Linked DNA regions of Homo sapiens: all the other regions are linked to region 3. Evidence: promoter capture Hi-C in human tissues and cell types (Jung and others, 2019). All regions are on one chromosome and are shown on one strand. Each heading gives the region's core, a stretch centred on a gene start or on the middle of the fragment in contact. The rest is flanking DNA. Distances are from core to core; before and after follow the strand shown.

Region 1 (3,723 bases), core at 720-3,219, 47 kb after region 3:
GGATAAAAATGTGTAATAACATATGTAAGAAATCTTCAATTTGACATAATAAAAAAATTAAAAATGTGAAGAAGAAAATGTTAGAAAAAGTGTGAGGAGAGAGATACAGTGGTATAATAAAATGAAGAGCCTCATAGGAAGAGAGATCATCTGTCCTAATCAACTATCAAAAGCAAGTGACCCTCACCTCTTTCCACCCTCTCAGTCCTTTAGAAATTAGAAAAGCAAAGAAGAGAGTAGTAAACATGTACCCAGGAGTTTCTGTAACTTAATACTGGAAAATACCTATATCAAGAGAAAATAATTAGCAAAGTCATTGAACATCTTTAACCCAAGCCAGGTAGCCTCTGAATTAAGACATTTAGTCTTCAATTACAGACCTCTAGGAATGACTCCTGTTTCTGTTTTGTTTGATTTTCACAAGTCTTATAATTCATCCCCAGAACTAGACTCATCAGATATGTCTGGTGGCAACATCTTTAATTAAACTCTTTATTAAAATCTACAGCTGTCAAAATAAATAAACCTTAAAGCACAGAAATAAATTTGAGAGGGCTTTTCCATTAAGGCATTACCTGGAAGAGATTTTTCCAGAAAATTGAGTGCTCGGACAATGATCACTGTCATAATTTGGGCTAATTGTGGTCATAGAAAGTTTAGGAACTTGAAAACCCCCAAAGCCTAAACTGATTTAAGACTGCCTATTCTGTTTCTGCGCGTCTTCAGGAGATTTCTCCAGGGTGCTTAGATGTGCATCATAACATTTTCAGAATTTTGCCACTGGAGGGCTCAATGGCCTTTTTAATGTTTCTTCTACGAGACCAAATGTTACGTTTGTGTAACAGTGAGATGTGAGACCAAGTTTTTTCTCCCCTTTTTGAGAAAATCTGTTTTGGGTGGTACAGTTAGATGCATGATAGCCAAAAAGCTTTTGTAAATTCCCTGAAAGATGGAAATTTGTCATAGCTACATGTATACTGAAATCAAAAAGGATGCCATTCATCTCTCCCCAGAGAATACAAGGGAATTGAGATTATACCGAGCAAGGCTTGTGCTGAGTTAGATGTGCTGCATATACGCGGTGTGCTTGTGTATGTATGCTGGTGGCAGTGTGGAAGGTGGTGGAATAGTGAGGGCTTAGGGGTCTGTAGTCATCCAGGAATTGTATGATTAATGTAGTTGGTATGAGAATGAGAATAATTTTAAGGACTAATTGGAAGAATATGAGGCTTGGTATCAGGCGACTAGTGATCATGCATTGTTCCAGGATTCCTGCTGCATGTTCGGTTATAAAGGTTGTGACGGCAGTTCTGCTTTTCCTGAATGAGCTATGTGTGCCTGTGGTCCAACCTCTCTGAGGCTGGTCCTGGATCCTGGACTGAGCAAGTGAACTCTGATATGAGTGACACATTGATTTGGCATCTGCGTAATTTTTTGTGATGTTTAGGAGTAACAATGAGGTGTTATGAAAAAAGTTGGAAACAGTGTTAGCCCCCATGCAAAAGTATAAAATCAACATAAAGCAGAGAGATAGAAATATCAGAATGCCTCTCCCAGAATGTAGCAAAAACGCAATTCTATTACATTTGGTATATGATTAAGAGTTAACTATAAACTAACTGAAAGATTCACGTATTTAATGATTAATAATAATATACCAATCCAAAGACAGATGGCTGCTCAGACTGAAACCTCCTTGCAGGTAGCGGAGAGTCAGAGAAAGAAACTGTGGAGAGGCTGGCCTAAGAACTGCCCAAGGAGACCGGCATGGGAACGTCAATTCTTGTGACTTTCTCACATGGCGATGGATGTTTGTTTCTTCTAAAATTTTGAATCACTAACAAATTTCCCTTGTTCCGATTTCATGCTGCTTCTGCTACATTTGGTTTATGAGTTGGCCTTTCATAGATTTGCTACTGCAGAGAATGTACTGGTCATATCAATGTGAATATTCAGATCCATATGTCAGTTATGGTTTGCAGATTGGCCCAGCATCTCGTGTGGCATGCTGAAGGAATCAGGCTCTGTCTTAGCAGAGTCAAAAACAAGGCTCTGGATCATGGTGAATTACCCAAGGTAAATGCTATTTCTTAGGCTACTTGCAGCTTGCCAATTGCCCATTCCAATCTCTACAAGTCCCACTAGATGTTTCACAGAATAAAGCAAAAAAAGAGGCTGGGATCACGAAAATGAATTTTCGAAGAGAAATATCAAGAATTATAATTATACATTTTCTCATCATGTTTTATTAATGAATCAAAGGAGTTAGTGAGCATTTATTTTCCTCTCTTGTGTTCCACTGCAATTTGCCAGGGAAATAACATGGACTCTTTCTCTCCCTTTCAACTCTGGTTTTCTTGCTGTGAAAGAGCAGCCATAACTTCTAGCAAAGGTTCCTGAGGGAGGCAGCAAGTAGCCACCCAGGAGCTTTAGGATGGGGCTTCCTATCTCAGTCGTGCCTAGAGGAACTGAAGCAGTTCTTAATGTACTGGTTTGAGGTCCGTCTTACCAGAGTTCCAACCCACCGCATGTCCCTAGTGGTCTATTACTTACTCCGTTATTTTTAATGGCAAAAACCGTTACTTTTAATGGTTACTTTTGCACCAACCTAATATTTCACAGCCACTCTCCTGGATGTTTCTGGGGAGCTTCAGTCTAGGCTCAGACATGGTGCCTGCTGGTTCTGGGAAAAGGTTAAGGGGCTGAGTAGTAGCACACACTACATCCTCCAGACTGTCTATGCCATGGCTATGTTTGGAAACCCTGCAAATGGCCTGGCAGAGTCTCACCTTGCCAATCCAGAGAGGATGTGGGGGATTTCTGGCTTAAGAATAGGCTGAAAAGAGGGACTGGAGGTTACTGCCACATAGCCAAGCATTCCTGGGAACTTTCTGGGAATGTGAACTGATATGAAAATGGCTTAGACTACAAGAATTATAGGGAAATATCAGAATACCCACCTAAAAATGGCTTAAATAAGAAGGCCATTTTAAAGCTTACTTCATGAGGAATTTTGAAATAGGCAGTTCCAGGGTCAGTTTGGCTGCTCAACAGAGTCTTCAAGGACGGAGGCACTCTTCATAATTCTCTTCTGCCATCATCAGGATTCAGTGAAATCTCCCTCTATGGTCACAGGATGACTCCAGCAGTTCTGATTATCCTGGGTTCCTGGATGTGTTATGTGCATTTTTATAAATGTTTTTGTGATTTTTCGGAGGGAGACAAATAGTAGACAACTCAGCCCATATCTACTATTTGTGGGATGTTCCCATTATCACCCAACAGGCTTCATCTTAGGTATTTTTGGTCAGAACTAAATTGCATATTGACTTTTTATACCGTAATCAGCAAAGACTATATATAACCTCTATCTGGACCAATCACAATTGACCTCCTGGGGATAAGCATATGGCTACTAGACAGTCCTCACGGGAAGTAAGGGAGAAGACATAAAGGAAGATGGCCAGCTATTAACTATTTTTTCCAGGATCTGAAAAGAAAACTGGGTTAAATTACACTAAAGAGAATTTAGAATGGCGTTTAGGAAGAAAGTGCAGACAAGAAAGTGGTATTGTACAATGGATCACATTATTGAACTTGTGCATATATATTCCCTATCTTCTAAAAACAGAATGAATAGATTTTGACTAGGACATAATTCATCCTTGCTTGGAGCTTGGAAGATGCAGTAAATTACCTTAAAGCATTTTCTTCATCATGTTG
Region 2 (3,894 bases), core at 1,393-3,892, 33 kb before region 3:
TTAACTTCTAACGGTGGAATTTTCAAACCAACAGTGGAGGGGGTTGCATCAAACAACATGTAAGATCAGTTTTTATTTTTGAACAGCTTTTATAAAACTTTTAATGTGGCTGGTATATTTAAAAATTATACTGAATAGTAAAGAGGAAATTTCAAATGATTATAATTAACTGCAAGAAAGGAAAATATATATTTTAGTAGAAGCAGTTAAAATAGGAACATAAATGAATATTTCAGTTTTGGTATTTCAACTCTTTACTAATTTTTCATATAGTATGGGTTAGGAACATTTAATTAATATGTTAGCTTTTTTTTTTTTTTTTTTTTTTGAGATGGATTCTCACTCTGTCACCCAGGCTGGAGTGCAGTGGTGCGATCTCGGCTCACCACAACCTCCACCTCCCGGGTTCAAGCCATTCTCCTGCTTCAGCCACCCGAGTATCTGGAATTACAGGTGCGTGCCACCACGCCCAGCTAATTTTTGTATTTTGAGTAGAGAAGGGGTTTCACCATGTGGGTCATGCTGGTCTTGAACTCCTGACCTCGTGATTCACCCGCCTTAGCTTCCCAAAGTGCTGAGATTACAGGCGTGAGCCACCGTGCCCGGCCAGCTTTTGTGTTTTAATTCTTTACTATTTAGTATTCATATAGCAAACTTTATCCTACTTTAGAAAGTTATCTTTTGTTTATTTGAGGAGCAAAACTTCTCAACCTAGAGTAAGTACAGGATGGGTGGGATTTGTGCCCCTTGGTGGAATGTGAGTGTCATTTCTGAGAGAGCAGGGGCCGCGATGCTGCTTTCTTCATCAACCCCTCGTTGTCATCATCACTATTTTCAGCATTGCCCCTTACCATTTACTTTCACAGTCACCATCACTTTTTAATCTTCAGCACAACCTCATGATGGATTATTTTATAATTTCCATTTTATGAATGGGGACCAAGAGAGACAGAGGTTAAATGTTTCATTATCCACCTAGAAAGAAACAGAGGAAAGATTTTAATCTGAACCTTCCAGCTTCAAAACTCATTGCTATTTCTGTTATACAGTGTGTGTTCTACCTTGCCTAGCAGCAGGGCTTCAGATAATTATTTTAAATGAATGCATTTGAAAGGTCCTGTTGTCAGAACTGGTGTTGAAAAAGCAATAACCACCAGAAGACAAATGAAAGAGGGCCAAACCATAAACTGTACAATGTTTTTCCTGGCATCTCTGTTCCAAATGATTGTTTGTATTGGCTCCAGGAATAATATCATATTTCCTAATAAATGGCTAAAGCTGAAATTATTGCAAATTTTATGCAGAACACTATTCCTAATGGTGGGAGGAATGCATATTTTTCTCTTTCAGTTACATTTGTCCTTTTAAATTGTCTGGAAAGAAAATCCATTTTTATAGAGACTAACTGCTGTATAGGAGTTGATATGCCAAGTAATTTTTCTAATTGGTAACCAGATCCTAAAAGGTGAAAATATGCCAAGGATGCAATTCTCTTTGGGTTTGCACAGATTACAAAGAGTTTTTCATTCTTTACCACTGATTAATAGATTAATAGATTGGTGGCAAAGGATGAATATCTGAATTGCCACTGTTCACGGTAGGATTGGGCTCCACAATCAGTGTCATGAAGCTTCTCAAGGAACATAGATATTAATTGCCCATGTATTACCAGATAGCTGTTGCGCCATTATCAAATTAGTTAACATAGTGAACCGTTACTGCTTCAACAGGAATGCCACACTGTCTTCAGTTTGGTAGAAATGTATGCAATTTGAAATATTTCAGACTGTGAGAAGTTCCACACTGAAGACATGGTTAAGCAGGAGGACCTCTAGGGCTCCTTCCAACTCCAGAATTCTTTGAGTCTCAGTGGAAATCTTCCTTGAGCTGAGAGCCTCACACAGAAAGAAAGTATTTTGTGCTGAAAAACAAACAGACTTGATATAGGACAGACCTGAAATTGAATCCTGTCTATTCATTTACTGATTGTAGCCACACTCAAGTGCCTTCCTTTCTCTGAGCATCAGTTTTCTGTCTTTAAAATGGGTATAATATCCATCTCATTGTTTTGTTGGCAGAATAATTCAGATTATGCATGTAAAGTACATAGCAGAGGGTCTGGCACTTGGTTGGTGCAGAGTACATGTACCTCAAAACATGTAGACCACCCCAATTTTAGATGAGTGCTTGGGTCATGGTCAGGGGAAGGTCTGTAAGACTAGGAGTGATCTTGGAACATCCAAAAAGGACACAGGAGAGAAAAGAGAGAGAAAGAACAAGGGAGAAGGAGAAAGAGAGAAGAAGAGAGAAAAAGATGAGAGGAGAGGTGAGGGAAGAGAATAGGGAGGGGACGGGAGGAAAAAGAAACCTTTGTCTAGAGAGCCTTGGGTGGCTTTGATGAGAGGATACTTGGGAACAAGGAGTAGGCTGATGGGACTTGATTCAAGTTGACCTCCTAGTTTTTGCTTTAAAGTTGGCTCTTAGGAGATTTTTCATTACCATTAACTCATTTGTCAGCTGAAATAATTTTCAGATGATCTGTAACCAACCTTTGTTTCACTGGGAAGTAAAAATCCTTGTAAAACTGTGACTGCAGTTTATTCTCAGAGCAAATATATGATGGCAGGCAATGGATTACAGAAGCGTGTGGCACATAGCTGGGCTCCTGTCCAGGTCTGTTCTCCTCCCTGAGAGAAAGAAGCAAACAACATAAGCGAGATGGAACACCATCCCTTACTGTTGGGGTGGGGGGAGGATATTTTCAGCTCTGGAATGTGAGGATTTGCCTAATATTTCTAACTATGTATTTGCCAGAAAATGTGGCATCTAGGGAGATCAGGAAATGCAGTGACTGTGCCAGAATGTGGTGCCCTCCGCTTCAGTCTGGCATGTCAGCAACTGGCTGTGGCTGTTGGCTAATACTACTCAGTGGTGCTCGTGTTAATTCCCTTTCCAGTAGAAATTTCTTGTGGTTAATATCAGCAGCTACCATGTAGCAAGCATCATGCGGGCTTTTACATTTACTCTTTAAAACAACCATGTGAGGTAGGTGAGGAAACCAAGGCTCAGATAAATCCATTGGCTTGTATACACATGGCTATTGTCATCGGAAAGATTAAATATTACTCAAAAGGATGACCACAGTCACTGCATTAACATTCCAAGACAGCAATATAAATCAATTTCATGAGAGGAAATCCTATTTTTGGTTGTGTAAAGGAACCAACTACCAGTGAAGGATGGAGTCTGAGAAACTAAATTGCTGTGCATAATAAAGTAAAAGAAACATTTAGGTTGTCCGCTGGCGACTTGAGTAGAGGACAGGATTTCTGGAAGACTGAGGAAGGAATAGAATGGAGAGTCTTTTACAGGCAGAGTAGGCTGGCCACCTGGTGGCAAGTCAGAGCCTGAGGAAGAAAAAGACCCTCCTTTGATTGCAAATTATCTGTGTATTTCTAGGGACAGTGGAAGCTGTGTTCAATTCAAAGCTGGTTTCTGCACTGTGTGGGATTACTCTTAGTTGTAGTCAAAACTTAGTCAAACCTTGTTACATTTGAGAGTCTTGTGTTGTTAGCACTTTGGTTGTGGCCCATGTTTGGGGTAAAGGGAAGAAGAGAAAGAACAGCAGTTACTTCAGAGAAGATATGAGTAGTGATTGAGCGTCAGTCTGGGAGCAAGAATTTAGAGGAAGGAGAAATGGAAAAATGTATGTCCCTTCTCCTAGAATCCTCAGAAATATTGAGGAGGAGCTGGACTTCTCTCAGCACGTGAGTCATTTCATTTAGATTATGAAAGAAAGGATAAACCCAGAAAGTGAGTGATATGGTTTGGCTGTGTTCTCACCCAAATCTGATATTGAATTGTAGTTCCCATAATCCCCATGTGTCATGGGAG
Region 3 (4,102 bases), core at 1,422-3,921:
GTTTTAACTGAAACTTTAAAAGGTTTACCTGAAACTTTGAAAAGTAAGGACTAACACAGAAATAAAATACAGAGAAAGGAAACTGGAGTGAAGAGGAAGGAAAAGCCAGTGAAAAATGCCAACCCTTCTGCTTTCACCCGGTGGGGAGGTACCTCCATAAAGGCAAATGTGGTTGGCTTTTCTTATTCTGTGTGGAGAGTGCTTCACAGCCTCTGTGTTTACCTTTGCAGTTGTGAGCTTGCCCTAATGTGGACTCTGCCTCACCAGTCCTGACTTTTCCCTCATTTGCTTCTCAGAGGCTTCCTCAGGAATTAGGTGGGGTTGGCCAGAACAGAGCTACAAAGAAAGGGTAGGCCATCGTAGCTCTAAGACTGTTTCATTCTCTAATTATTAAGGTTCCAAAGGAAAACTTTCAGCAGCACACAATTTTTTCAAAAAAACATGCTTTATTATTGTTTGCTTTTATTTATACTTTAAATTTTAAAATAATTATGGACTCACAGGAAGTTGCAAACATACTACATAGAGCTCCTGTGTGACCTTCACCCAATTTCCCCCAATGATATTATCATACATAACTATAGTTCAATATTAAGACCCAGGAAATTGCCATTGGTACAACTTATCTTATTCAGATGTCACGTTTTTATGTGCATTCATATATGTATGTAGTTCTATGCAGTCCTATCCTGTGTATAACACACATTCATGTAACCACCACCACAATCTAAATTTGTCTCATCATAACAAATAAACTTCTTTATTCTGATCCTTTACATTTGCCCCACCGCTAACCCCTGGCAACCACTATCCATCTCTATAATCTTGTCATTTCAATAATATTATTTAAATGCAGCCCAGTGTTTCTCCATTCACGTTGCTCTTTTTCCAAAGCATAGTATTCATATACTTGGGAAATACTGGGTCTACCAAATAACAATAATATCAACTATATACAGGCACTGAGCTAAGTCCTTTTTCCACTTAATCTTCAAAATAGCCCTGTGAGGCTATTTATTAATACCTGGCATTAGTATTAGTAAATCACATCACATTACCCTCACGATTAAAAAAGACCTCTAATGTCTCCCAATTTCATTTAGAGGAAACATGGACTCTCACTCTGGCTATAGGACCCACTCCCTTAGCTGACCTTTTGTTTCACTACATCTCTTACCAACCCCACCCACCTTGCTCTACTCTATTTGGAGTGGTATCGTTCTGTCCTTGAATATGCCCAGTCAAGCTGCTTCCTGCCTCAGGACCTCTGTATCTGCTGTTCCTTCTACCTGAAATTCTACAGTCAGATCCGTCAATAGCTGGTTCTCTGTCCTCATTAAGTCTTAACTCAAAATTTTATCTTCTCAGAGAGACTCTCCCTGTACACATAATGTAAAAAACCAAAAACCTCTCCATATGGGGCTGCCAGATTTAGCAAACAAAAACATGACACCCAGTTAAATTTAAATTTCAGATAAATAATAGTATTTTAGTATAAGTATGTCCCATGCAATATTTGGGACATACATATACTAATATTATTCATTGTTTCTCTGAAAGTCAGTTTAATTGGGTGTCCTGCATTTTGTCTGGAAGCTCTTCCTCTGTAGCCACTCTGTTATGTGGTACCCTGCTTAACTGTTTCCATGGGACTTTTGCATATTAGAAATTCTGTTTATTGTCTCGCATCACCTCCCAACCCTCACCCTCACAATAAGCTCCATGTGGGTGGGACCCTGATGCCCTGTTCACAGCTGCATCCCCAGAGCCTATCACAGTGCCTGGTATATAGTAGGTGCTTAATAAATATTTGTTATAAAGGTAACAAAAACAAAACAAAACAAAAAACTTAGGTTGGTAACACCTCCAAAGCATACTGCTAGCTAGACAAGACTGATCAGTGTGCTACCGCAGCTTAGGGAACTCTCCCGTTTTCCCCATTTAGGAGGACGAAAGAGGCATTGTGTTGCTGGCCTTTCAGAAGTCTCTCCTAGCAGAATCAGAAGACCCTGGCTGAGCAGCTTTGGGAGAAGCAAAGTCTGAATGAGCTAAAAAGCCTTTTCCGTTTGCCTTGCAACAAGCAAATGAAGTAACCAAAGAAAAAATGCGCTTGAATGAAAAGAACAAGATTCTGTGCGTGCCGAATCGGATCAAAGGCAGTGCGCATCACCCATCTTCGTCCACCGTAAACTCCCTGCAACTTAAGGGCTGGCTTTATCGTCAGACTCCGGAAATGCTAGAACCTGATCATAAGAGACCAGTGCAGAGGCAAATAAAGAAAAGGGAGGGGTGGATGGGGATGAAGTCAAGACAGAAGAAATTAAACTCTCGTCTTGGACCCAGGGAGCGCAACGGGGCGGGGGCAGACGTCTTCAGCTTTAGAACTCCGTCGGGTTCATCGCTCAGTGTGGACGATCGGCGCCCCCACGAGACCCATCGAGGGCACATAGTTTCCACTCCAGCTCGCTTCATCCGACCCAGACGATCGCCAGCGCGGCCAGCGGCCAGCGCACAGCGAGCTGCCTGGGCAACTGTGGCCGGATCCTAGGGAGCAAGCTGGCTTCGGGCCCTACCTAGCTCCACCCGGCTCCTACCGGCCCTCCCACCTAGGAGCTGGAGGATGGTCCCGGGGCGCCCCAGGGGGACTGCTGGTCCCCGGAGTCTCCAGCCAGACGCGCCTTGTTGTGTGAGCCGCGTGCGCGCCCAATTTGGAGGCAGCCGCCCCCGCCGCTGACAGGTGCTGCCCAGAGGGCGCCGGGTGCGGTCCCTGGCGCAGCTGGACGCGCACGCCCCGGTGCGTGCAGCTTCCCGAGCTCGGTCAGAGAGAAGAGGGAGCCAGGGCGCGGCCTGGGGGACGCCAGTGGACTGGAGCCGCGGAGCTTCGAGGGAAAAACTTTGCAGGCGCCGCGGCCGGGATTCGGTTACGGCTCCAGCCCACCCCAGCAGGTGCGGGAGGAAGAGGCAGCGCCGGAGTCCCGAGGCCAGAGAGCCTCGGCGGCGGCGGCCGCTTCTTTCCCCCGAGCTGGCCTGAAGTCGCTGGGCACTCCCGGTTTCTGCTGCTGCGCCCGCCGCCGCCGCCGCCGCCACCGCCAGCGCCGCGGGGACCCGGGAGGAGGTGCAGCCGAAGAGGGAGGAGAAGCAGGAGGAGGAGGAGGAGGAGGAGGGGAGAGGAGGAGCAGGGGGTGGAGGATGGAGCCCCGGGCTGCCGCGGCGGGCGAGCCAGAGCCGCCGGCGGCGTCCTCCTCCTTCCAGGCCCGGCTCTGGAAGAACCTGCAGCTGGGGGTGGGCAGGAGCAAGGGCGGCGGGGGCGGGCGCGCTGGGGGTCCAGAGCGCCGCACTGCGGACACCCCGTCGCCCTCCCCGCCACCCCCGGTGGGCACAGGGAATGCACCGGCCAGGGGGAGTGGTGCAGGCAGCAGGTGGAGCGGCTTCAAGAAGCGGAAGCAAGTGCTGGACCGAGTCTTCTCCTCCTCGCAGCCCAACCTGTGCTGCTCGTCGCCGGAGCCCCTGGAGCCCGGCGGCGCCGGCAGAGCCGAGCAGGGGTCCACGCTACGCCGCCGGATCCGCGAGCATTTGCTCCCCGCCGTAAAGGGGCCCGCGGCGGCCTCGGGAGCAGCGGGAGGGACGCCTCCTGGCGGACGCTCCCCCGACTCAGCTCCTTCCTCTTCCTCCGCCTCATCCTCCCTGTCCTCCTCGCCCCAGCCTCCCCCGAGGGGGGACCGCGCCCGAGATGAGGGTGCACGGCGTCAGGGCCCCGGGGCGCACTTGTGCCACCAGAAGAGCTCCTCTCTGCCGGGCACCGCCTGCCTGGAGCAGCTGCTGGAGCCGCCGCCTCCTCCCGCAGAGCCGGCGCGGAGTCCCGCGGAGTCTCGGGCCCCGGAGACGGGCGAGGAGCACGGCAGCAGCCAGGTGAGTGCCGGTGGCGCGGCCGGAGACAAGGTGCGCGGGACCACGCCTCCCTCTTCAGGCGTTCACCACCCGGGGAGCGGGGGGCGGGGGCCGGGAGGCGGGAGGAGAAATGCTATTAATTCTAAGTAGATGAAACAGTCGAAAGAAAACATCTCGCTCTGGTTTAGCAAAGATGAAAGAGTTCTGACTTGCA

The links. The method cuts DNA at HindIII sites, captures the fragments that hold promoters and counts their contacts. A contact is called where the count stands out against the background at its distance.
Region 1: a contact is called between a fragment that was not itself captured here and the fragment with the promoter of MCTP1 in region 3, in 2 of the 25 tissues and cell types used here (adrenal gland and stomach).
Region 2: a fragment that was not itself captured here is called in contact with the fragment with the promoter of MCTP1 in region 3 in 1 of the 25 tissues and cell types used here (psoas muscle).

What each region holds. Positions count from the first base shown.
Region 1 is chr5:95,236,213-95,239,935 of GRCh38, reverse strand. The region is part of intron 1 of MCTP1 (multiple C2 and transmembrane domain containing 1); the gene reads left to right. It overlaps LOC105379085 (a long non-coding RNA gene), which reads right to left. Exons shown (of 8, transcript XR_948575.3): 6 at 2,961-3,168. Among named protein-coding and RNA genes, the nearest start is that of MCTP1, 47 kb to the left of the region's middle. The HindIII fragment of the contact is 4,605 bases long and covers 1-3,723 here.
Region 2 is chr5:95,316,775-95,320,668 of GRCh38, reverse strand. No RefSeq gene overlaps it. Among named protein-coding and RNA genes, the nearest start is that of MCTP1, 34 kb to the right of the region's middle. The HindIII fragment of the contact is 5,677 bases long and covers 1-3,894 here.
Region 3 is chr5:95,283,663-95,287,764 of GRCh38, reverse strand. MCTP1 (multiple C2 and transmembrane domain containing 1) reads left to right here and starts at 2,671. Exons shown (of 23, transcript NM_024717.7): 1 at 2,671-3,909. The coding sequence starts at 3,190. RefSeq lists silencers at 3,323-3,382, 3,463-3,582. The HindIII fragment of the contact is 12,418 bases long and covers 1-4,102 here.